4 separate regions of the Homo sapiens genome follow, and regions 1, 2 and 4 are each linked to region 3. Evidence: promoter capture Hi-C in human tissues and cell types (Jung and others, 2019). All regions are on one chromosome and are shown on one strand. Each heading gives the region's core, a stretch centred on a gene start or on the middle of the fragment in contact. The rest is flanking DNA. Distances are from core to core; before and after follow the strand shown.

Region 1 (6,062 bases), core at 578-3,077, 310 kb after region 3:
CCAAAGTGCTAGGATTACAGGCATGAGCCACTGCGCCAGACAATTTTTGCATTTTTAGTAGAGATGGGGTTTCACTATGTTGACCAGGATGATCTTGATCTCTTGACCTCATGATCTGCCCGCCTTGGCCTCCCAAAGTGCTGGGACTGCAGGCGTGAGCCACCGCGCCCGGCCAGGCATACATTTTGTATAACAAGTTTGAATGACTAGCTTTTAGAAGAAAGAAGTGGGGGGAAAAAACGTATTATTTTATATAATCATCCTACTATTTATAGATAAGGCAATGCGGGGCTCAGAGTATCTAAGAGGCCTGTTCAAGGCAGGAAGTAGAGTTCCATCCCCTCTAATTTCAAATCCTTTCTTCCCTCCACAAAATCAAGGTACCCTGCCACAGTTATTTACTATGTCCCTATCACGTGCCAGTCATCTGAGAGACTTACTTAAAAGGGGAGACACAGAAAAGACACTGCCTGTAACATACCTGTAAAGACTGAGAATGAGAGGGAAGAAGGGCGTGGACCCCATGCGCTGCAGGCTTGCCACGCATCAGGCACACAGTTTCTTACTGGAATCCTCCCGACAGCCCGATAAGGAGGCCCGCTTTATAAAGATTCTGTAACTTGCCCAACATGGCAGAGCTGGGATTCCAACATGAGGCAGTCAGCCTCCAAAACCCAGGTCCTCCACCTCTCGGCCCTCCTGCATCCTGCTGGTCAGGCCGAGGCCCCCCAGTGACTAGGGTCCTGATGCAGCCACGAACAACACCAAGCTCGTTCTTTCTTCTCACTCTGCCTGAGTCCCTCACCTGCAACACGGGGCAACACGTTCTCTAGCCCACACTCCCTAGCATGTCAAATGTACAAGGACAGGCGCTGAAGTCTCCCATGAGCCTCTGAAGGGGATTGAGGGACTACCTCACCTTGCAGAGGGTCACCGTAAGTTCTGAAAAGTGGCAACACCTGGAAAATGCTTCCTAAGGAAGCAAAGGGGTTACAGGGAGAGCAGGGTGTGTAGCAAGGCAACTGGCACTTAGTGTGTGCTCAATAACCATCCAGATCCAGTTCCTTTACACACACTGAGACGACAGCGCCTCAACACCTACATGCACAGGGCTGAGCGGGCCACACAGAGGCAGGAAGAACGCTAACAGCCTGGTCAATGGGACCCTAAGTGTAATGGATAATTAATGCTTTTGTGAAAAGATGCTGCTGCTCTTGGGTACCTGCTCGGCAGGTAAGGGCCAGATGGAGTTCAAGCCCATCAAGCCCATCACAGTCGCAGCAGCTGGGTTCCACTCGGACCGTGACCCCGCCTCTCCGTGCACTCCTCCAGGAACCTGTCTGTACTGGGGCTCCAAACTTCTCCCTTCTCCAGCACTGCACTTCCTGTCAAGCCACTCCTGACCCTAAGGAAAGGAAACTGTACTCCCCAGTCGTCTAAACAAACAACTCAAATCCCACTGTAGGTCCTCCGGCTGGTCAACGCAAATCTAGTTGTTCTGTCTCCAAAGCTCCTGCCACACATCGTTCACACTGCAGCGTTTCTTCAAAACTTCGGTTGACCACTGACTACTTACTTCACCTGCTGCTGCCCAAACAAAGAGTCACAGAGTGGCTGCCTTCAGAGAGCTGACCATAGGTGAAAGGGAGGCCAACAAAGGCTTCAGGATCCGCTGAGGTCAGTGATGTCCTTCGGGAGTGCTGGAGCCAGCTGCTGCAAAGCCGCCTGTGTTTACAAGACTGGCTCATCCCTTTGTCCCTAGAACCTGACACACAACAGAAGTGCATACACACAAGGAAAATGACAACCACCAATTTTCAATTATCTGCCTTGTGTCAGGCACTGTTAATAATTTTTCAGACACTTTATAACACACAGTTTTACAACCCTGCACAGTCAGTGTTATCTCCTTTTCAAGATGAAGGAAAAATGATGCTGAGAGAAATGTGAATGGCTCGCTCAAAACCACAGCGCCAATGAGCAGGAGAATCAACACTGGAAATCAGATACAGGCGCATGGGGCTCTCACTCCTGGTGTGCACTGCAATTCTAAATTCTTGTTAAATTTAAAACCAATCTACTAAGTAAACATAGCAACTGGAAAAAGATCTACCACGATAAAACTCCACAGTGCCCCTTCCATGGGTGAGCTGTCCCCACCACACAGGGAAAGTGACGAAGGCCTCGGTGGCAGGGTGTCTATCAATAATGTCGTAACGATTACACCCCACGCCCCGCTCAGAGGAGTGTATTTTCCACATAGATCAGAGTAGAAATGTCTAAGAGTGGATCGTTTATTGTAACAGGCTAGAAAGAAATTGCTCCTCAGGAGAGAGGGAGGCTCGGCACTCAGACAGGGATGGTCCAGCCTAATCCATTTCCATCTCGTCCCTAACAAGGTTACCAGGCAGCTCTGTGTAAAAAGCAAATCTCAAAGGTAATTTGATCTTTTAAATAAAAGTCAACTGAGACCTATGTACTCCCTGGTGGGAGAACAGTAAAAATAATAATAATAATAATGAGAATTCTACCTATCTATATTGGGCTTTGGCATTTAGAAAAAACTGCCCCCTCTGTTATTTAAATGGATTCTCTTATCGCCCTGGTGAGGTGAGCAGAGCTAAGAGGCTCACTCTCCCCCTAGGGAGTGCAGAGACCAAGCTGCGGCAGAGAAACACACTCCTCCAAAGATACGGCTCCTACAAAGGGTCTGTCCAGCGGCAGAATAGACACCAGAGTCCAGGACTCCAGGCTCCCAGGTCAGAGCAGGTGTGGCAGCAAGCTTTGGTCTGGGTGTCCCCAAGGCCACAGTTCAGATTGCCTCCCTTCCACTCACGAACGCACAGGACAAGGTGAGGAATGTAACACCCCCAGATAGGAATGCCAATGTCAGAGGGTTCTCGGGAGTGTGCATGGGATGCCCGACGCAACACCCAGGGCATGCCCTGGAGTCTAGCAGGCCGTGAATAAATAGGACTGCTCTTCCTTCCCATGCTCTCATATAGAAAACCATCATTTTAAAAAATACCAATAAGAAAAACTGCAGAAATTATCAGTATCAGTGAGAGGAGCAGACAAACAGACTACCCCAGGAGTAAATAACTCACATCCATTTGTATTTTGGTTTCACAATAGAGTATATGATTCATGTTATGCCAGCAGTAAAGTAGTCCTTTGACATATATTTGGCTTCTATTTGCACCAAAATTAGTCTGAATCTCTGTGTAGGCTCGCACTGGCATGTATGTGGCCATCTTCATTGTCCATGCTGCAGTGGCCTGGAAGCCAGGACATCTAGATGCCAGCCCTGTCACCTGCAAGCTGTGTGAACCTGAGCAAATCAGAAAACTCTCCGGGCCTCGTTTGTGATGCAAATGTGTTGAAATGGGCCATCTCTGGGGATGCATATAACTCTAACATGGCGTGATGCCAGAGTACAAATCTTCACCTGTGAGCAAAATGAAAAGTAATGAATTCACAATACACCATGCATCACGTAACTTCAATAAACTGCAAAGGCCAAGAGCCGAAAATGCATACTAATTCTGTTGTGTTCCAGGCCTTGCAATTTACACAGGTCCCTATTAAGAAAGATAGAATTTAGCACTTTGGGAGGCCGAGGTGGGTGGATCACTTGAGGTCAGGAGTTAAGAGTCCAGCCTGGGCAACTTGGTGAAACCCTGTCTCTACTAAAAATGAAAAACAATAAAAATAAAAAAAAAATAAGCCAGGCACGGTGGCTCATGCCTGTAGTCCCAGCTACTCGGGAGGCTGAGGCAGGAGAATCACTTGAACCTGGGAGGCAGAGGCTGCAGCGAGCTGAGGTTGTGCCACTGCACTCCAGCCCGAGCAAAAGAAAAGAAAAATAGAACTTAAATATATATATAAACGGGGTCATCCCTTTTATACAAAAGAAACACCTGAATGAATAGAGCCTTGGTATTTTACATCCTGTCATTCCTACACCTTCCCCGGCTGCCCACCGTGGGGCAAGGCGCTAGGTCCTGGGAGGCAGAGGTTGACCACCTGGCTGCATGTTCCACAGAGCTCAAAATCCAGTGGAAGAACCAGAAACCCAACATTAACACCTCTCCTGTTCCTCCCACTGTGGGTGGTGAAATCCTTCTTTCCTCAAGAATTAGTACAACGTTTCATTTTTTTGTGATGCCTTTCCAGCTCTCCCCAGTAAAAATTAGGTGCTCTCTCCAACGTATATATATTTTCGTACATGAAATGTTAAATCAAGGTTAAAATTTACATACAACGAAATACACAAATCTGAAGTGTATACTAGTCTGATTATTTGTCTACAACCCTATAACCCATACCCCTATCAATATATGCAACATTTCATCAAGTCAGAAAGATATTTTCTCTTCCCTTTAGGGCGACCAACTGTCCTGGTTTGTACTGAGGACTTTGCTAGGGTGAGGGAATTTCAGAGCTAAAATCTAGAAAATCCCAGGCAAACCAGACAGTTGCTAACCCAAATCCCTTCCCAGTCAATTCCTGCCCCACGTTACCTTAACCCAGAGTCAACCACTGGTTAGATTTCTTTCATCATAAAACAGGTTTTCCTGTTCTAGAAAGGTGTACACATGGAGTCACACAGTATGTTTCTTTTATGACTCGATTCCTTTGACCAGCATCGTAACTTTGTGCTGACCCCATTTTGTTGCATGTACCAGCAGTTTCTATTTCTGAGGAGTATTCCATTGTGTGGCAGCACCCCACATTGTTTATTCATTTACCTGTTGATGGGCATTTGGGGTTGTTTCCAGTTTGGAGTTATTAGGAATAAAGCTGTTACGAAAATACTTGCAGGAGTCTTTTTGTGGATGTGGACTTATATTTCTCTTGAGAAAATATCTAGGAATGAAATTGCTGGATCACTGGGGAGGAATATGTTTTAATTCATGAGGAACTGCCTGACTGATTTTCTAAAGTGGCTGCACCAGTTTATACTCCCAGAAGCAGTTTATGTGAATTCTGGCTGTTTCACATTCTCCCTAACATTTGGTGTTCTGTTTTTTAATTTTAGCCATTCTAGTGGGTATATAGTAGTATCTAATTGGGGTTTTAATTCGCATTTCTCTAATGATTAATAATGTTGAACACTTTTCGGAGATAACAGGTCATTTGAGAAATATCTGTTCAAATTTTCTATTTATCACCTTTTTAGAATTGTACAACTTCATCAATAAGATACAAGACGTTTGTTACATAAATATGTTACAATTTTTTTATCTTAGAATGTAATTTGCCTTTTAATAAGCTGAAGTTTTTAATTTTGATGAAATTTGTCCTATCAAGTCTTAGTTTTATGGTTAGCAGTTTCCGGCCCCATCTAAGAAAATATTTGCCCCTAAATCAAGAAGATACTGTGCTACATTTTCTTTGAGAAGGCTTGCAGTTAAAGGTTTTACTTTTAGGCCTAAAATTCATCTCCAGTGAATTCTTGGGCAGATGTGATGTATGGGTGAAGGGTTGTTTTTATTCCCCCACACAGACGTCCAGTTGTTCCAGCATCTTTTATTAAAAAGACTTTTCTTTCCCCATGAAATTAGTTTTGCATCTTGTTAAAAATCAACTGATGAGATACAATTGGAACTATTTCTGGACTATCTATTATGGTCCATTGATCTCTTTTTCTGTCTTTACACCAATAACATACTCTCTTGATTATTATAGCTTTACATTGTCTTAAAATCATACAGTGTAAGTCCTCCAACTTTGTTCTTTTTTGTCAAGTTATTTGTCTATTCTAGGTCTGTTCAATTTCAAAATAATTTTATAATTCCACTAAACAAAAATCCTGCTAGGATTTTGACCGAATTGCATTCAACTTACAATCAGTTCGGGGAAAACCACTATCTTAAGAAAAACTAATTCTTCCAATCACTAAGCATGGTATACTTTTTTTTTTGATACAGAGTCTCGTTCTGTTGCCCAGGCTGGAGTGCAGTGGTATAATCTCGGCTGACTACAACTTCCACCTCCTGGGTTCAGGTGATTCTCCTGCCTCAGCCTCCCAAGTAGCTGGGACTACAGGCATCCACCAC
Region 2 (5,846 bases), core at 2,934-5,433, 490 kb before region 3:
CAGTTCCTTTTTACTGTTTGTAGCCTCAGGTGCAGAGCATGGAGATTTTTTTATACCAAATAATTAATAGAACTTATCTTCCCATGCAGCATGTAACAACAGTTTGACACACAGTGGATATTCAATAAGTATCTCTCCAATCAGTAATATGTCTGGAGATTATAAATCGCTTTTGCCTTCCTGCTACAACCACTTAGCATGGAAAATAAAACTAACAAAGGCACTGGGCACCATGGGAAATGCAGGTCCCTGGCTCACTGTGAGGAATGGGGTTTTTTGGCAGGGCTAAGCCAGATGGGAACCCGAGGCTTCTCAATATTTATGCCAATGGCTTTACTGGAGTCACACAATCTCTGAAAGGTCACCTGCCTCAAGGTCCAGGGAAGAGTGGGAAGGCTCTGCTTGCCTCTGACTTGAAGACATTGAACAACTCTTGGGAATCAGACAAGGAAGTTTTAAAGGGGCGTCAATGGGCCTGCATTTAGAACAAATACTTAGAACAGTACTTCTTCGAGGCCCTGTCGGGAGCCACCGCATACCCTCAGTTGATTGATAGAAACCAGTGTGTTGTAATACTTTCCTTTATGTGGGTCTTGGGCTTGCTTTCTCTAGCATCTCATTGGCTCCTGACTTGCTCACCTGCCTAGTGAGCCACTGCACAGAGCATCTGGTTCTCTGCTGAATGCACAGGTACCATCTGTGCTGCAGAGGGTAGCTGACATTCTGTTTGGGAGCATCCAGAATAGCCATAGGGAAGCAGCACCCTGTGGGACACAGAACAGCCTTGGCTACTTTTTCAGCTCAGACTTCTCTCACTATGCTCATCCCCTATCAGGTTTATGGCTCTGGTGAAAATGGAAGAAAACCATACAAGACAATGGATTCCTAGTTGTGCAATCTGAAATTGTCTGCTGCTGAGTCAACTATAACTCAATAGGACTCAGCTGAATTTCTTTTATTTGCCTGCTGAAATCCTCCAGTGTCACAAGCATGACGTTGGAGCATAAAATCTATATGAACTTTTATTTGTCACCATATGCATTCTGAAATACTGAAGAAATAATTTCTTAGTAATGGCATCCCCCAACCAAACCTACGAGTTTTCGACCACAGACATAAGCTTGTTTTTGTGGGACATGACGCTTGTCCCCACATCTTCCCTTATAAGTCTTCAAGGTCCCTCTAGGATAAAATCCAAACTCCATGAGTACCGAGACCCTTCCTCAGTTTTGCCTCATAACATTATCTGCTTTCTACTCCAAGGAAATTGGAACTGCTCGGGATCTAACATCATCGTATCTCCAGGCCCTTCCTAGTCTCCACTAGAAGGTTCTCCCCCTCTCTCACACAGCACTAACTACAACAAGGATGGTGATGAGACTATAATGAGAAGACATCAAAAATACTAGCTCCACGTAGTATTCAAACTCTTCCCAAATACTAACATAATTCTCATAAGGTGTCTGCAAGACAGATCGTATTATTCTAACTTTACCAATGAGGACACTGAGTCACAAAGGGTTTAGGTAACTTCCCAGGTCAAACAGAAAGATAGACAAATTTGAATCTAGGACACAGGTTTTAGAGATTGGTGAATGCATCACCCTTTAGCACTGGACTAGCATCTATTAAAAGAACAGAAGGCTCACTTCTCTGGATTTTAGCAATTTTATCTAGCAGAGAAAGGAAAATATTGAAGGCAAGATAACTAATTTTTAATGTGAAACTACTGGGTGTCAGAAAACAAGGTGCTTCCAGGTACACTGTCTGCCTTCTTTCATCTCATAACACAGCTATGAGGACCCAGGCTCAAAGAGCCTAGGCAGATAATTGCAGGTCATCTGGCCAGTTAGCACACCTGAGGTCCATCACAGGCGCCCATCTTGGAACACGACGGGAGGTCTTCCCTCCTCTTCCTTCTCTCTCAGGGCTCCGGGTTCCAAAGAGAAGCCACACAGCACAGCCCCTAGGAGGGTGGGAAGCCCAGGAGCACCCCTTCTGCAGCAGCACCTGCAGAATCCTGGAGTGGATGCTCTGGCTCTGAGCCACAAGAGGGCGCTGCAGGCCCAGGAAGAGGCGGCCGCGGGGCCTCTACCTCCCACCTCCTCCATCGTCTCACTCTGGTCTCTAGACAGAGGCTCTCTCAGGATTCACTGAAACAGAACTCAGTGCAAACAGCACAATTTAGAAAAGGCAACAAAACCAGCCCACGCCTCTTTCTACTCATAGATTTTATAGCCCAGTGGAATCCACCCTCCACATCCCTCTAAGCCAGGATGACTCGTCTGCTCACCCTACGGCAGCCCGACGCCAGCATCTGTCCTGGGCTTACTTTATTGCATTTCCTAGAATCGAAGGCTAAACTCCTGGAAAGGGTCCGCTGGAGCTCCTTGCATCCCTGGCCCCAGCCTTTGCCGGTCTGATGGACTTGGCCCACTCTGCCCAGGACTATTGGCCAGACTTTATCATTGCCATCATCTTCATAAGTTAAAACTCACAGTTACAGTAGAACAGCATCAGCAATAGCTAACATTTGCTCAGTACTTTGTTAGGCACTAGGCCCAAAATTTTAATCCTCCCAACAACCACACAGGTAAGAACTTGTCATCCTCTTTTAGAAAAAAGAGAACTGAGTCTCAAATGTCATGAATACACGTCAACACCAGCATGTGAAGTCACGTCTGTTTGGCATCAGTCTGTCAACCCCAGCATGTGAAGTCACATCTGCTTGGCATCAGTCTGTGGTCCTTCTGCTGAATTGAGCCATTCTGGTTCTCTGATCACTTTGAGTCCACGACCTGGATATATGAAAGTCAGACTCTCATTCTTTTGCTCATTTATTCAACAAGTAATTATTAAGCACCTACTGTATACTCACACACTCTGACTATACATGCAATATAATTTGATATGGAGTCTGACCCTGAACTATGGTAAATATCACCCCAGGATTGTTCTAAGCACACTATTCAGGAACCAAGAAGACAGTGATTCCGAAAGACAGGTAATGAGGTGACCAAAATTACCAGGATAATACAGAATGGCAGACTATTTAGTACTGTTCTCAGTTCCTCTCTCTCACCAAGGCCATCTGGATCTATGCCCTCCTCTTGCCACTCTTGATCAGGCTGCAGGTGGCTCTTTGGGGATACTCTTTTATCTTGTATTAAAACGCTGAGTCAGATTTTCTCCAAAAGGACTTACGACTGTGGATGGATATGCCTGAATCCATGGACATCTCTAAATACTGGAGAGAGGGCTCGTTTCCAAAATGAACCTAGCAGAGGCAGCCCAGTGACACAGACATCGAGCAATATCTTAGAGCTAACGGTGGATGCAAGGAGAGGCTGCATGAAGGCCGTGGAAGAGACAGGGAGGTCTGAGTCCTTGAAATACCATTCAGCCGTGTGAACTTGGACCTTCTCCCCATCATCTCTAAGCCTCATTCTCCTCACTTGTAAAAGAGAAAGTGAGATTTAATAAGCTTTCCACCTTATTCCTGTTTTAGTAATCACCAATTTTATTATACAGCTCACTATTAGCGGTCTGACAGCCAGTCATCTCTAAATCTAATCTCTAATATGCAATATCCTCATCTTGGAAATAGGGATAACATTAATGTCCTTGAAACATTGACATAAGAATTAGATAGAAAACGTTCGTATACCTTGCACTTGCTTATAACAGGGACCCAACACATCATAGCCATAGCTGTAATTAGCAAAATAAAGGTCGATAACGGAAAACTAAAATCAGAAATGCAATTCCTCGGGGCATGAGACTCCATCCTAATGAATTTCCTGGTTCCGCAAAGGAGGCGGCTGTCAAATCCCCTCCATGAGTCATCAGCTCCCTCCTCCTTCCTAAGGTCCTCTCTTCTGTGACTCCAAGCCTCCACTGTTCTGGAGAAGGGGGTGAGGGTGAGCCAAGGCTGATCAATGAGGCCACAGAGTGTTTGGGATGGGGGTGGAGTGATTGTTTGTTCACCAGAAAAAAAAAATGAGGAGGTTGGACATGATGAGGCATAAAGGCCCTTTCAGGTGGGAGATCTGAAATTGGCAGAGGCCCAGAGAGAGGAAGTGACTCACCCCAAATCATACAGCTAGAAAGACTAGGCAGAGCTTGAATTTAAACATTGCTTTAAAAAAAAAACAAAAACAAAAAACCCAACTGCAAGAGTGTCAGTGAGGCCTGGGCTTAGAAGTTCCAGAACCTGTGTTGTTGTCCTTGTCGTCTATCAGTACTGGAAGCAAGACACATGCTGTGTGTGCAGGGGGTTCATAGGAGGCGCCGTATTTATACCTGTCTGTGCTTTGTGGTCATAAATTAATTCTGAGGTCATCAGAGAGACAAAAGAGGATGAGCAGAGACGTCCCTGTTCTTCCTAAGGAGAAGGGATGACCTATGACCATCCTTGCCCAGACTAACGTCATTAACATACAAAAACACAGACACACTGGAGCAGGACAGGTCAGTCCATGGAGAACAGAAAGAAAGGAAGGTCATCAAGGCCAACTTTGGCGGTGCCCAGCAAGAGCTGCCCTGGGCCCAGCTGCCTTCACCCCAAGGACACTCGCAGCTGCATGCCCTGAAGCCAGGAAAATTTCGAACCATCCAATCAGCAGCCTCTGCTCTGAGTCACAAAATCACATCTGCAAGAGCCCCTGTATGGAAGAAAACTGAGTCATCTTCTCCTTTCACAATAATAAAAATAGTTCCCTCATTTGAGCACTCATGATATGCTAAATGCTTTACATTTTAGCTCACAAAAATCATATAAGGTAGTTCCCATTTATCCCCATTTTGAATAAACAAATGCAAAGAAAGGTAAATTATCTTTTTTTAAAACCTAAGCTCTAAAAGCTAGAAATTGGCAGTCTTGATTTCAGACAGATCTGCCTGACTCCAAAAGGTTTCTGCTAGGATACTCTGCTGTCTGAAACTTCTTCTACAGCCATGTCATATGTTGATATGTGATATGTAAGCATACATATAAACATACTTTAAATGTAAACATGGTAAATGTTCCTTAGGAGTAAATGGAAAATTCAAGCAAATACAAGGACGATCACTGTGGGATAAATGTCAAAAATGTAATGTTTTACTCTAGCCTCTCTCCTCTTTGTGCACACACATTCAATGATGACATACTTTTTCAATCTGCTTTGTTAAATGAATATATTGCCTGTATTTTGCACATTAATTATCAATATAATTCTAAATCATTGCCTGCTAGTTCATTATTTGGCTCTACCATAATTTATTCAACTGATCCCCTCACTGCAGGGTGTTTAATTGTTTTGTTTCTATCACAAATTACACTGTAACATTTGCACATGTAAATATTTGTGTGCATAGCTCTGACTATTTTCCTGAATTATTCAAAGGTTCCAGGTATTTCTGATAGGTCTGCTTAACAGGGAGAGAATGGGATTGACACATGAATATACATCTACCAGTGTGGCAGAACTACTTCTCATTGTAATTTAATAAAGTGGCGTTTGGTTCACTTTATCCACTCCTGCGCGATTAGCTAATGTGAGCGCCCTCTAAGCGAAGCCAACACCCCCGGGGGCTGTTGAAATCATCTTTCCGAGCCTGCAAGCCCCTGGATGCTGGTGCATTAATCAAGGTGAATGCTCCCTCGCGAGGCTTCCTGCCTGCCGGGCGGTGAACTAGCTCTCCTGAGAAAGAGGCACACTCAACAGGCAATTGCTTTCCGTCCTGAACCTTTGTCCCAGAGGAAAGCAAACACTGATTGATCATTATAATTGTATGAATGAGAAATGTCATTCTTAGCCTCTGCCTTTTATAAATTCTTATGGATTCAAAGCCAGACAGTTGCT
Region 3 (5,480 bases), core at 960-3,459:
GGATCAGCCAAGCATTTTATGTGCCTGTTTTACTACTGGAAGCCAGCATGCTAGCCAAATTCACCTGTCTTCCATCTTCAACCCTAAAGGCATGTTTAAGGGCCTTGGGGCTTTCTCCTTTCCCCAGGGGTGGCCAGTTTCAGAGGCATATTTCTTACTCTCCAGCTCTCCAGCAAACAGGCCCCTGTCTCCCAGAATCACTGCCCTGTGCATCTGCGTGCCACTGCCACAGTTTAAAGCCAGAGAAAATGGCAATGACTGGCCCTCTCAGAAGCTGGAAACACAGTGTGGGAAGGGAAGGAGTCATCTGTGTTTGGGGTGCTGGGCAAAGGGCGTGGGGCAAGCAAGAGCCAAGCTGATTATGTAGATAACAGAAGGACAATTTCCTTCACAAACAGAAAAACCTGCACCAATGAATTAAACATTTAAAACAAGATGACTCTCTAAAAAGTATTTTCAACCAAGAAGGAAAGACAGGCCGTCCTGTGCTGGCGCTTCCTGTTGCATATGGCACTGAGAAATCCTTTTTTTTTCAGTATGCAGAGATTTCCAGACAAAGAAAAATATCAAGAGGGAAATTAGAGGAGGAGGTCCAGAGAAGCGAGACAGGAGGAGCTGGGAAGAAGGGAGGGGGGAAGGAGGAGGTCCCTGCCCAGGGCACAGGGGTGTGAAGCCCTGAGGGGTGCAGGAAACAGACCACCCCCACTAACACACTGGCCTTGGCAAGTCCAAGGAGATGGCCCTAGAGAGGCAGCCTGCCTCACTGGGGCAAGTGAACCACAGAGACACCACCCTGCCTCCTGCCATGCAGGGTATCCACCACGTCCACCCGAATGAAGGTACCTGCCCCAGCTCCCACAGGTCTCCAAGTATAACGTCCGGGAGTCCTCCCAGCCCCCAGCCTTAGAGGGGACACTGCCCTCGGGACCGACCAGAGACCCTGCTCTGTGAATAGCGCCCTTGGCAGTGGGGCTGGCGGGCATCCCTGCAGTTTACCAGCTGGACCCCCTCTCGTGACTGGGGCTCAAGTTCCCTGGTTTCTGGGCAATGTCTAGACTGGCCTTTCCCAGTGTCACAGCCTAGGGAGTGGGCAGGTTCTGCCCTGCCCCCACTCTCCACCTCTACTGAGAGCAATTGAGGGGCTGCCACCCCCAACGCAAGCACCAGAGAGCAAACTCTCTCCTCCCAGGGGCCTGGGAAGTCCAAGCTCCAGAACTGGAACTCAGGGGAAAAAAGGAGCCGGGCGGGGGGAAGAGAGATGAAATCTGAGCTCAGAGAAGCCTGGAGCGGGGCCCAGGGGCTACGGAGGGTCAGTGCCTCTCACGCCCCAGGCGCACTCCCCTGCCACCTGAGTCCCTCTAGGAGCCATGGGTGCCAGGCCAGCCCTCTCCAACTCCCAGAGAGGTAGTAAGTGTAAGGCTCAGAGCCCCGCGCAGCCCAGCCCGCGCCGGGGCGGTGGGTGGGTGGGTGTCTGCTATGGGATTATTCTTAGCGCTCCACTCTCTTCGCAAAAGTGGCGCCTCCGCCCTCCCGGCTCAGGCACACTCGCTCGGGGCTCGCACGCCCGGCCCAGACACCAGCGCGGTGGAGAGCACCGGGTGGGGTCCCCGAAGGGTGAGGCTCGGAGGCGCCGCGGAGGGGGGGCTCCCTAGAGAGGAGGGGGCGCTGCGGGAAGGCCCCCAAGGGAGGCTGCGTTTAACCCTCGACGCCCTGCACCCAGCCCGGCGCGGCGCGCTCAGCCGCCTCCCCGGACTCCTCCCGGGGCGCGGGAGCCCAGCGGCGCGCCCAGCCCTTACCTATGGTGGTGATGACCGTGATCGCAAAGTAGAAGGAGCCGGCGAATTTCCACTGGACGCCGGCGCGGTGCGGTTCCGACTGCAGGATCACCAGCTCCAGCTGCCGGTAGTCCTCGCTGCTGATGTTGTACTTCCCCTTGATCCGGATCTCCTCGGCTTTGAGTTTCTCCTCCTCGCGCATCTCGTGGTCCGACTCGAGGGCGTCGAACACGGCGGCGCCCACCAGCAGGTAGGTGAAGGTGCAGACGATGAGGGACAGAGTCCGCACGTTCTGCCTCTTCATGGCCGCCAGCAAGGAGCCGGCGCGGGGGGCATGTCCCGCAGGCTCACAGCCGCGCGCGTCCCACTGCAGCGCCCGGCGGCCGCCGCCGCCTCCTCCTCCGCCGCCGCCGCCGCCGCCTCCAAGTTGTAAGCGGCGGCGGCAGCAGCAGCAGCAGCAGCGGGGAGGCGGGGGGCGGGGAGGCTGGGGGGGGCCCCCTCCGCTGGGGCCGCCACAGCCACCGCCACCGCGAGGCGGCTGGCGGGGCAGGGGCGGCGCGGGCCCGGGCTCAGCCGAGAAGGCGGACAGGCACAGGAGGCTGCTCGAGCGCCGGGGCCAGGCGTCCGGGAACCCCGACACCCTGCGCCAGACCCGGCCGAAGCAGCCCGCCCCACTGCGCAGGGCCATGCAGGGCGGCCCCGCTGGGTACCGCGCGGGCCTTGCTGCCCTCCGCACCCCGCCCCCCGCTCCCGCGGGAAACGCAGGGACGGGAACCGGAGCCAGAAAGCGGCCGGAGGGCGGCCGCGGGGCCCGGTACCCCTGTGGGTCCAGCTCGCGGGTGGCGGTGCCCAGCAAGGAGCCTGCAGGTCCGCGCGCCCAGCGGAACCTGCTTCCCCTTTTACCCCTCCTCGCCCCCTCTCGGTGGTGGGGAGGAAAAGTTTGCGAAGTGGCGGTGTCTCTGGAGTCCCCTGCAAGCGGGGAGGGGGCCGAGCAGGTGCAGCGGGAGGGGCAGCCCGCTCCCCAAAGGTCCGCGCGCCCAGCGCCCACCCGGGCGCGCGGGTGCGCAGCGGGGTCCCCGCCGGGCGTCGGCCGGTGCGCGAAGTTTGCTCGGCTCAACCCCCAAGGCGCGGGAGCGGGGCGCGGCCCCAGGACGGCAGGGACCGCGATGGAGCGGCTTCGGGGGCGGCCGGGGGACGGCGCGGTGGCGGTCGGCCAGCCCGCTCCTCCGGGGGCGGCGGGCGCGGCGGCGGCGGCGGGAGGGGTCCCGCGGGCCTCGCGGAGCAGCGGGGCGGACGCGGGCGCATGAGCCGCGCGGGGGTCGGGGCCCTCCGGCGTCCGGGCGTCCCGGGAGGCGGCCGCCGCGCTGGTCTGCCCCGGGCGCTACGTGCGTGCGCGCCGTTGGGAGCCCGAATGTGTGTGTGCGCGTGTGTATGTGCGTGTGTGTGTGTGTGTGTGTGTGCGCTTGGCAGCCCCGCTCCGGCGGGAGGGCCTCGGGGAGCGGGGGCCGGGCTACGCCGAGGCCGGGCCTCCCTCCCTCCCTCCCTCCCGCAGCCTCCAGGGCGCGCCACCTCCCGCCTGGTCCCCAGCCAGCTGGCGAGGCTGCTGTGGCAGCTCCCGCTGCAGACCCAGCGCGGCGCAGGGCGCACGCGGAGGGAGCCCGGGAGGGGCGGCCTGAGCCGCCAGGGAGGGGGCGGGGGCGGAGCCGCCGGCGGGTTTTGGCGGGGGATGGGAGGATAAACGCGGCTTCTTGGGTCCTTCTAGCCCCGCTCCCCAAGAGCGCAAGCAGCCCTGGCGGGTGGAGAGTTTGAGGGACTCGGGGTTGGAGGAGGAAAACGGGATTCAGCCAGAGATGGCAGGCTGACAGCTTCAGGCAGATTGGGCAGAGAGTGGGGAGCAGAAGGGGAGGGGGCCATGGGCACACAGGAGAGCGGCAGCAGCGGTTCACGAAGTCTTCCCCACCCCCCACCCCCCACCTAGCCACCCGGCGCGGGAGCGTGTCATTGGCCAGGGACATGGCCTCGTGGAGTGGTGGGGTCCCGAGGGCTGCCTCGGCCCCCTCGCCTCCCAGCGGCACAGCCCGCTTGGGCCAGCACCTGCAGACCCGAGTCGTTTCCCTGGAGAGCGCTAAGGACAGCATGGGCCGCCACTTTTGGAGTCAGGACAGCGGGGAAAGACATCGCAATCCCCCGACCCAGTAACCTCTCTGTTGCTTTACTGAAGGAAAAAAAAAAAATACACACACACACACACACACACACACACACACACACACACACACATATATATATATATATATATATATATAATCACTCTTTGATATATATAATCACTCTTTGGTTCCCCACAGCTGGGCGCAAGGTGCGCCGTGGATGCAGCCCTGAGCCACGCGATAGCCCCCTCGAGACCACCTGGGGTAGGAACACGAGGCTCGGGCTGGGGCGCACCTATTCCCTGCTTCCAGATGAGCCCTCTCCAGGCTTTATCTCCTTCCCATTTTGGCCTCCTTTACCTCCTCCCCCTCCCCGCCCTCTCCCTTTAGGCTATCGAGGGGCTTTTCCTTGACCTTCGGCTTCCTGAATCCCGCCTGGAGCCCTGGAGCTCCAAAAGGACAGACCCAAGCCTCAGAGACCCCTGGGCTCCTCTTCCTCTCCTGACCCCAGCCAAGGAAGGGATGGAGATGGGAAAGAGTTGCCTGGCGGCAGGCTAGCAGCTGGCCAAGGGGTGGCTGGGGAATCAGACCTAACCCTCGGGCAGCTCGCGGGCTCCAGGAGACCAGTCCCTTCTGTGGGTCGCCCCCTGGAGCGGTGCTCGGGCTCCCTGGCCTCAGGGACCCCGGGCCCAGAGGGTCTGGGACCCCAGTGATTCACCGAGGCCTCCCAGCTGGGACGCTCTGCACCCCACTTTCAGGGATCACGGGTGCCCACCAGGGAAGGGGAGCCCGCGCTGTGGGCTACGTCTGAGCCGTCAGGTCCTCGCTGGGTCTGCGGGCGCCCTGGGGCGAGGGAGCGGGGAGCCCTACCCCGAGCAGGCACTCTCCCCAGATTCATTTTGGAAACCAAGGCCCCCGCGCTCGGCAAGTGAGCCTGGCTGCCGGGTGAGTCACCGCGAGCGGGCGACAAGGATTCCCAGCAGCTGGTAATTAATTGCGCCGTGGCTCAGCCCACGACGGAACCCCAGTCAGGCCTCCCGCCGCCCTGGCAGCGGCGCCACCCCTGAGTCACAGCCGTCGGGCCTCCGCGCGGTCCGGAAGCCGCCTGCCCGCCTCGGCGCCACCAGGGGGCACTGGACTCCGACCCACGCGGCGGCCGCGCAGCCGGCCTCGCTGCGGGGAAGTCCAGGCTGTCCCCGCGGCAGCGCGGGCGGGGGAGGGGCGCGCCGGCAGACGCCGCGCTCTGCAGAGCCACTTCGATTTGGTTTACGGAACTCCATTTGCATACAGCCTTTCAGGAAAGCGCAACCGCTGTATGAGTACTGGAAGGACCTCTGAGATGAATTACTCCAAACCCCTTGTTTTACAGATGGGAAAACTTCCAGCAAGACAGGATCACGTGCCCAGGATCCCACAGTGATTCCGATGTGGAGCCAGCCCTGGAAGCCTCTCCGTGGCTTAAGGACCCCCGCTGCTTTCTGGCCCCAAGCTTAGAGTGCCTTGAGTGGCCACCTACCAGCCCCCAGACCCTGGTTCTTCCTCTCTTCCACCCGTG
Region 4 (5,861 bases), core at 2,255-4,754, 290 kb after region 3:
AATTAGATCCCTACCTCACATCATATATAAAAATAAATTCCAAACAGAATGAATAGCTAAATATAGAAAAACAATATTTAAAAATCTTTAGACAAAATATAGATGAACAGTTCATGACCTTGGAAAAAAGAAAGACTTCTCAAATGAGTTACAATACATATAAAATATAAGGGAAAAGAATAAAATGTTTGGCTGCATTAAAATTAAGAATTTTGGTACAATGAAAAACATCAAAAACCAAAGCAAAGACAAGCTTCATTTTTAATGCGTTGCAAATATCTTTTCACAGGCATTTGCAACATATTAAATTGACTAAGGATTTGAATTCTGAATTTATAGAGAACTCCTATAAATCAGTAAGAAAAAAATGACCCAATAGAAAATTAAGCAAAGGACAAGAATCAATAATTTAAAGTAGGGGAAACCCAATGACCAATAAACAGGAACAGAAGCTCAATCCAACTAGTAGTTAGAGAAATGGAAATAAACCCCAAGAGTATTATTTCTCACCCAACCTATTGGTAATATTTTTAAAGCGTCCCAGTACCAAGAGTTGGTCAAGCTATAGATCAACAGGAAATACGGGAATTCCTGTCACTGCTGGTAGGGATACAAATTGGTACAACTCCTTCAGACAGAAAAAGAGTTTGACCGAACAATTCCATTTGTAGCTGCCTATCTTGGATCAACTCAGAGTTTGGTAAAGGGGCACATTCAAAAGTGTTCAATGCAACATCATTTATAAAAGTAAAGAACTGCTTTTAACTAAGTGCACATCAACTGGAGAGTAGATACAGACATACAATGGTAGAGTTATATGATGGAAACCTATGCAGAGGTGACAATGAATTTAAAAGAACTATATGCCCCACCACAGACAAATCTCATATTAAAACTGCTGGGTAAATAAGTTGCAGAAGATATACAATATATATGTATATCAAATTTTAAAATATGTTTTAAAATACTCGATATTATCTATAAATATCAAATTTAAGAGTAGTCATTCATGCTAAGAGAGCAAGAGACACAGTGTGGAAGAATATACAGAGCTTTAACAGCATATTTTTATTTCTTTAAATTAAAAACATAAAAGCAAATATAATATACTGAAATATTAAAAATGGACAAGTCTGTATGGTAGACAAATTGATACCTCCTAGACATTTATTTATGTTTCTTATACTTGAAATGTCTTATAAAAAGTTACTTTTAAAGTCATTTAGACTAATGTGTTAGCCTGGGATCCCCCCAGAAAGCAGAGCCTGAGAAAAGGGTTTGCACAGAGCTAGTGCTTAGGGAAGGGATGCCAGGAAGCATGTAGAGTAGGCAAAGTGGGGCAGCAGAGGAGAAGGTGATGCCAGAGGGCATGTTGCTGTGCGTCGCTGAGCTGGCGGCCCTGTGGGCAGCTGGGGCTCAATCATCGTCCTTCTGTGGAGCCGAGAGGATTGCGCTTCACACTGTGCGCCTGAGGCACAGAAGAGGAAATAATTGCTCTCCCAACTCTTTCCCTCACTAGTCAAGCTTTCCCCCAGAGGGGTCAGTTCTCTCACACTTCATCCATGCACTGTGCAGAGAGACTACCCATAGCCACCCAAACCTACAGCCTCAGAGAAGGCAGTTAGAATATTCCAGAAAGCAAGAGATGCTCACGACGGCTATGGTAAGGTGCTGTCAGGTGACACCTGCATAAATTTGGTTGCCACGGCAATAGCTAGTCTAAAAGTGGGCTACTATATGAGGCAGAGCATAAGACATGTATGACACAACTATTTCTTAAAAATTAAGTGAGTCTCTTGACATTAACACGGATGTTTTAAAATGACTTCAGATCTGATGGTAAACAAGGGCCTCCCTGAAGAAATGATGTTTCAGTTAGGAATCCAACAACAAGAAAGCAATCATGTGATGGTCTTGGAGGACAGCTTTCCAGAGAGAATGAGCAGTTAAAGCAAAAATCGTAAGGCACAGTGTGATCAAGGAACAGAACAAGCAGAGAGTGGTGTAGGAGTAAAAACAGAGGAAAGGTCATGGGGAAATACTCATATTTCATTCCAAGCAAAATGGGAAGGTATTTTGAGAGTTTTAAGCAGATGAGTGACATGAATTGGTTTGTGTTTAAAAAAAAAAAATGGTGAGTTCCAATTCTGGAAAAGATGGAGTAAGCACAATCTACCCTGTCTCTCCCACTGAATGCAACTATAAATCATAGAATGCACTGAGCTGAAGATGAAGACTCAAAAAATAAATGTTAGAAGGTGGATCACAGTAGGAGCCAGAAACTGAAGTTATTCTGAACTGGCAGTGAGCTGCATCTCTCTCCAGTACCACCTGGCCTCAACTGAAAGGCAGCGTGGACTCCAGAGGCGTGCCCTGTGTATAGCCAGACAGAGCTCCCAGGGCAGCCTCTCTTCCTGGTCCAACAAGTGGGAAAAGGTACTATGAAGGGCCACAGAAAGTAGGAGAATCCCTGAGTCTTTTCCCTTTTTTCTTCCCTTTTCTCCCAGCCCAGCCTCAAAGCAAACCACAGGAGATAATGACATCAGAGCAGTATTGGCGGGACAGGCTCACACACCTCCCTGATACAAACCACCTCACTGACCCAAAGAGCTGAGGTCCCAAAACCAGGGGGCCAGTTTGCATCACTCTGATTTCCTTCTCTGTGCCTCTGGACAGTCAGTCCTCCATGTAGACACACAGAGGGGGAAGCTCATATCCTGCCTTTGTAGCAGGCACATAGGGATAAGAGCCCCCAGTAATTTGGGAAGATTTCAGAAAGGAGATTGATTCAGAGAGCAGACAAAGTCAAGCATGAACTCCTAAGCTCACCAGGGAGCTGAGCTTGACAGAATCAGACCCTCAAGAGCAAACCACGGGCTTTGATAACTGATCTCCAGGCAAGAATGCCGACGGGCACCCACATGCGGCTGATCCAAGAAGCACCACAAATGCTTTGAAACTGGAACTGCAGCACAGCCTGCAAAAGGTACTCTGCATTAAAAAAAAAAAAAAAAAAAAAAGTACCAACATTTTCCTCAGTATTCAAACAAGATCCCAATGCCTCCCAATATTATAGTCAAGATGTCCAGAATACGATCTAAAATAACTCAACACAGAACCAGGAAAATATCAAGTCATGAGGAAAAAGTAAGTAACAGACAATAACTTCAAGATGACTGTCTTATTAGAAAGAGACTTTAAATGCATTCCAAGAACTGACCATACTTGAAACAAGTGAAAAGACGGAAAATCTCAGCGAAAAAGAAGATAAAAAAAGAACCAGAAAAACTTAAGCAAAAAAAAAAAAAAAAAAAAAAAAGAAAGGAAAGAAAAAAAGAAAAATTCACCACATGGTGAATTATCTTAGTAACTGAGAGGACAAGTAGACATAAAATCAGAAAGAATATAAGATAAACAAAATTACCATTGACCACCCAGATCTCACTAATACTCAGAGAACATTCCACCCAAAAGCAGCAGAATAATCATACTACCCAAGTGTACATGCAATATTTACCACCAATCACATTCCAAGACCATGGGTTGGGGGTGGTGGGGGAACTCTAACAACTGTAAAATAAAAATCATACAATGTGTTTTTGGGATCAGTAAGGAATTAAACAAGTAAATGTGAAGATAGATTAACAGATTATCCAATGGAAACAACAGGGGAAAATAAAACAGAAAAAAAAAACACTCTTATGGGACAACGAAACCTCTAAAAATCACGTCACAGGAGACTAAGAAACAAAGAAGAAAATAACATGCCATTTTTAAATAAATAATGGCCACACCCCCAAAAAGAATTGGCAAATGACATAAACAGATTCAGAAACCCAAAAAGTTTTTTGTTTTTGCTGTTGTTGCTATTTTTTTGTTTGTTTGTTTGCTTTTGAGACAGAGTCTCGCTCTGTCACCCAGGTTGGAGTGCAATGGCGTGATCTCGGCTCATTGCAACCTCTGCCTCCCAGGTTCAAGCGATTCTCCTGCCTCAGCCTCCCAAGTAGCTGGCATTACAGGCACACACCACCACACCAGGCTAAACATTTTTTATGGTATTTTTAGTAGACACGGGATTTTGCCACGTTGGCCAGGCTGGTCTCGAATGCCTGACCTCAGGTGATCCACCCACCTCTGCCTCCCAAAGTGCTGGGATTACAGGCGTGAGCCATCACGCCTGACCCAAAAACTATTTTTTTTAATCCCTGCCTGGAAACATAATCAAACTGCAGAAAGCTAAAGAACAGAAGCCATCTGGAAAGCTGCCAGAGCAAACAATACATCCTGCACAGGGAAACAATGAATTCTACACAGAGGAGACAATGCATCCTGCACAGAAGAGATAATGCATTCTACACTAGGGAGACAGTGCATCCTTCATAGGGGAGACAATGCAACCCTCACAGGGGAGACAATGCACCCTACACAGAGAAGACAATGCATCCTACCCAGGGGAGAAAATACATCCTACACAGGGCAGACAACGCATCCTACACAGGGCAGACAACGCATCCTACACAGGGAGACAATGCATCCCACACAGAAGAGACAATGCATCCTACCCAGGAGAACAATGCATCCCACACAGAGGAGACAATATATCCCACACAGGGGAGACAATGCATTCCACACAGGGGAGACAATGCATTCTACACAGGGGAGACAATGCATCCTACACAGAAGAGACAACGCATCCTACCCAGGGGAACAATGCATCCTACCCAGGGGAGACAATGCATCCTACACAGGGAGACAATGCATCCCACACAGGGGAAACAATGCATCCTACACAGGGAGACAGTGCATCCTACACAGGGGAGACAATGCATCCTACACAGGGAGACAATGCATCCCACACAGGGGAAACAATGCATCCTACACAGGGAGACAGTGCATCCTACACAGGGGAGACAGTGCATCCTACACAGGGAGACAATGCATCCTACACAGGGAGACAATGCATCCCACACAGGGAGACAATGCATCCCACACAGGAGAGACAATGCATCCCACACAGGGGAGACAATGCATCCCACACAGGGGAGACAATGCATCCCACACAGGGGATACAATGCATCCCACACAGGGAGACAATGCATCCTACACAGGGGAGACAATGCATCCCACACAGGGGAGACAATGCATCCTACACAGGGAGACAATGCATCCTACACAGGTAGACAATGCATCCTACACAGGGAGACAATGCATCCTACACAGGGGAAACAAAACAACAAATTTTTCTAAAGTCTGAAGAATCCTCATAAAAAACCACGGAGGGCAGAGAAAGTGAATCATTTTTAAAATGCTGAAAGAAAAGAATGTCAACTCAGAAGTCCATATCTATTAAAGTATCTTTCAGGAATAAAAGTAAAGACATTCTCAGATAAAGGAAAATTAAGAATCTCAGTCATCAGTAGAACTTTTCTAAAAGAACTGGGAAAGAAAGTCCTTTAAACAAAGGGTGAATAATAATACAGGGAAACTTGAACACGAAGCAAAAAGAGTAACAAAAATGGTAAGTATCTGGTTAAATGTAATTTCCTATTAAGTTACTTAAAAGATACACAATGGACTGGGCGCAGTGGCTCATGCCTGTAATCCCAGCACTTTGGGAGGCCAAGGCGGGTGGATCACAAGGTCAGGAGATCGAGACCATCCTGGCTAACACGGTGAAACCCCGTCTCTACTAAAAATACAAAAACAAAATTAGCTGGGCGTGCTGGTGGGCACCTGTAGTCCCAGCTACTTGGGAGGCTGAGGCAGGAGAATGGTGTGAAACCAGGAGGCAGAGCTTGCAGTGAGCCTAGATCACACCACTGCACTCCAGTCTGGGCAACACAGCGAGACTCCGTCTCAAA

The links. The method cuts DNA at HindIII sites, captures the fragments that hold promoters and counts their contacts. A contact is called where the count stands out against the background at its distance.
Region 1: a fragment that was not itself captured here is called in contact with the fragment with the promoter of KCNK9 in region 3 in 2 of the 25 tissues and cell types used here (mesendoderm cells and spleen).
Region 2: a contact is called between a fragment that was not itself captured here and the fragment with the promoter of KCNK9 in region 3, in 1 of the 25 tissues and cell types used here (dorsolateral prefrontal cortex).
Region 4: a contact is called between a fragment that was not itself captured here and the fragment with the promoter of KCNK9 in region 3, in 2 of the 25 tissues and cell types used here (H1 embryonic stem cells and dorsolateral prefrontal cortex).

What each region holds. Positions count from the first base shown.
Region 1 is chr8:140,011,936-140,017,997 of GRCh38, forward strand. All of the region lies in intron 18 of TRAPPC9 (trafficking protein particle complex subunit 9), which reads right to left. Among named protein-coding and RNA genes, the nearest start is that of C8orf17, 84 kb to the left of the region's middle. The HindIII fragment of the contact is 6,590 bases long and covers 1-5,122 here.
Region 2 is chr8:139,211,455-139,217,300 of GRCh38, forward strand. No RefSeq gene overlaps it. Among named protein-coding and RNA genes, the nearest start is that of COL22A1, 300 kb to the left of the region's middle. RefSeq lists enhancers at 3,520-4,719, 4,111-4,250. The HindIII fragment of the contact is 3,763 bases long and covers 2,303-5,846 here.
Region 3 is chr8:139,700,914-139,706,393 of GRCh38, forward strand. KCNK9 (potassium two pore domain channel subfamily K member 9) reads right to left here and starts at 2,210. Exons shown (of 2, transcript NM_001282534.2): 1 at 1,797-2,210. The coding sequence starts at 2,079. RefSeq lists silencers at 1,933-2,227, 4,936-5,305. The HindIII fragment of the contact is 18,854 bases long and covers 1-5,480 here.
Region 4 is chr8:139,992,864-139,998,724 of GRCh38, forward strand. The region is part of intron 18 of TRAPPC9 (trafficking protein particle complex subunit 9); the gene reads right to left. Among named protein-coding and RNA genes, the nearest start is that of C8orf17, 64 kb to the left of the region's middle. The HindIII fragment of the contact is 7,978 bases long and covers 1-5,861 here.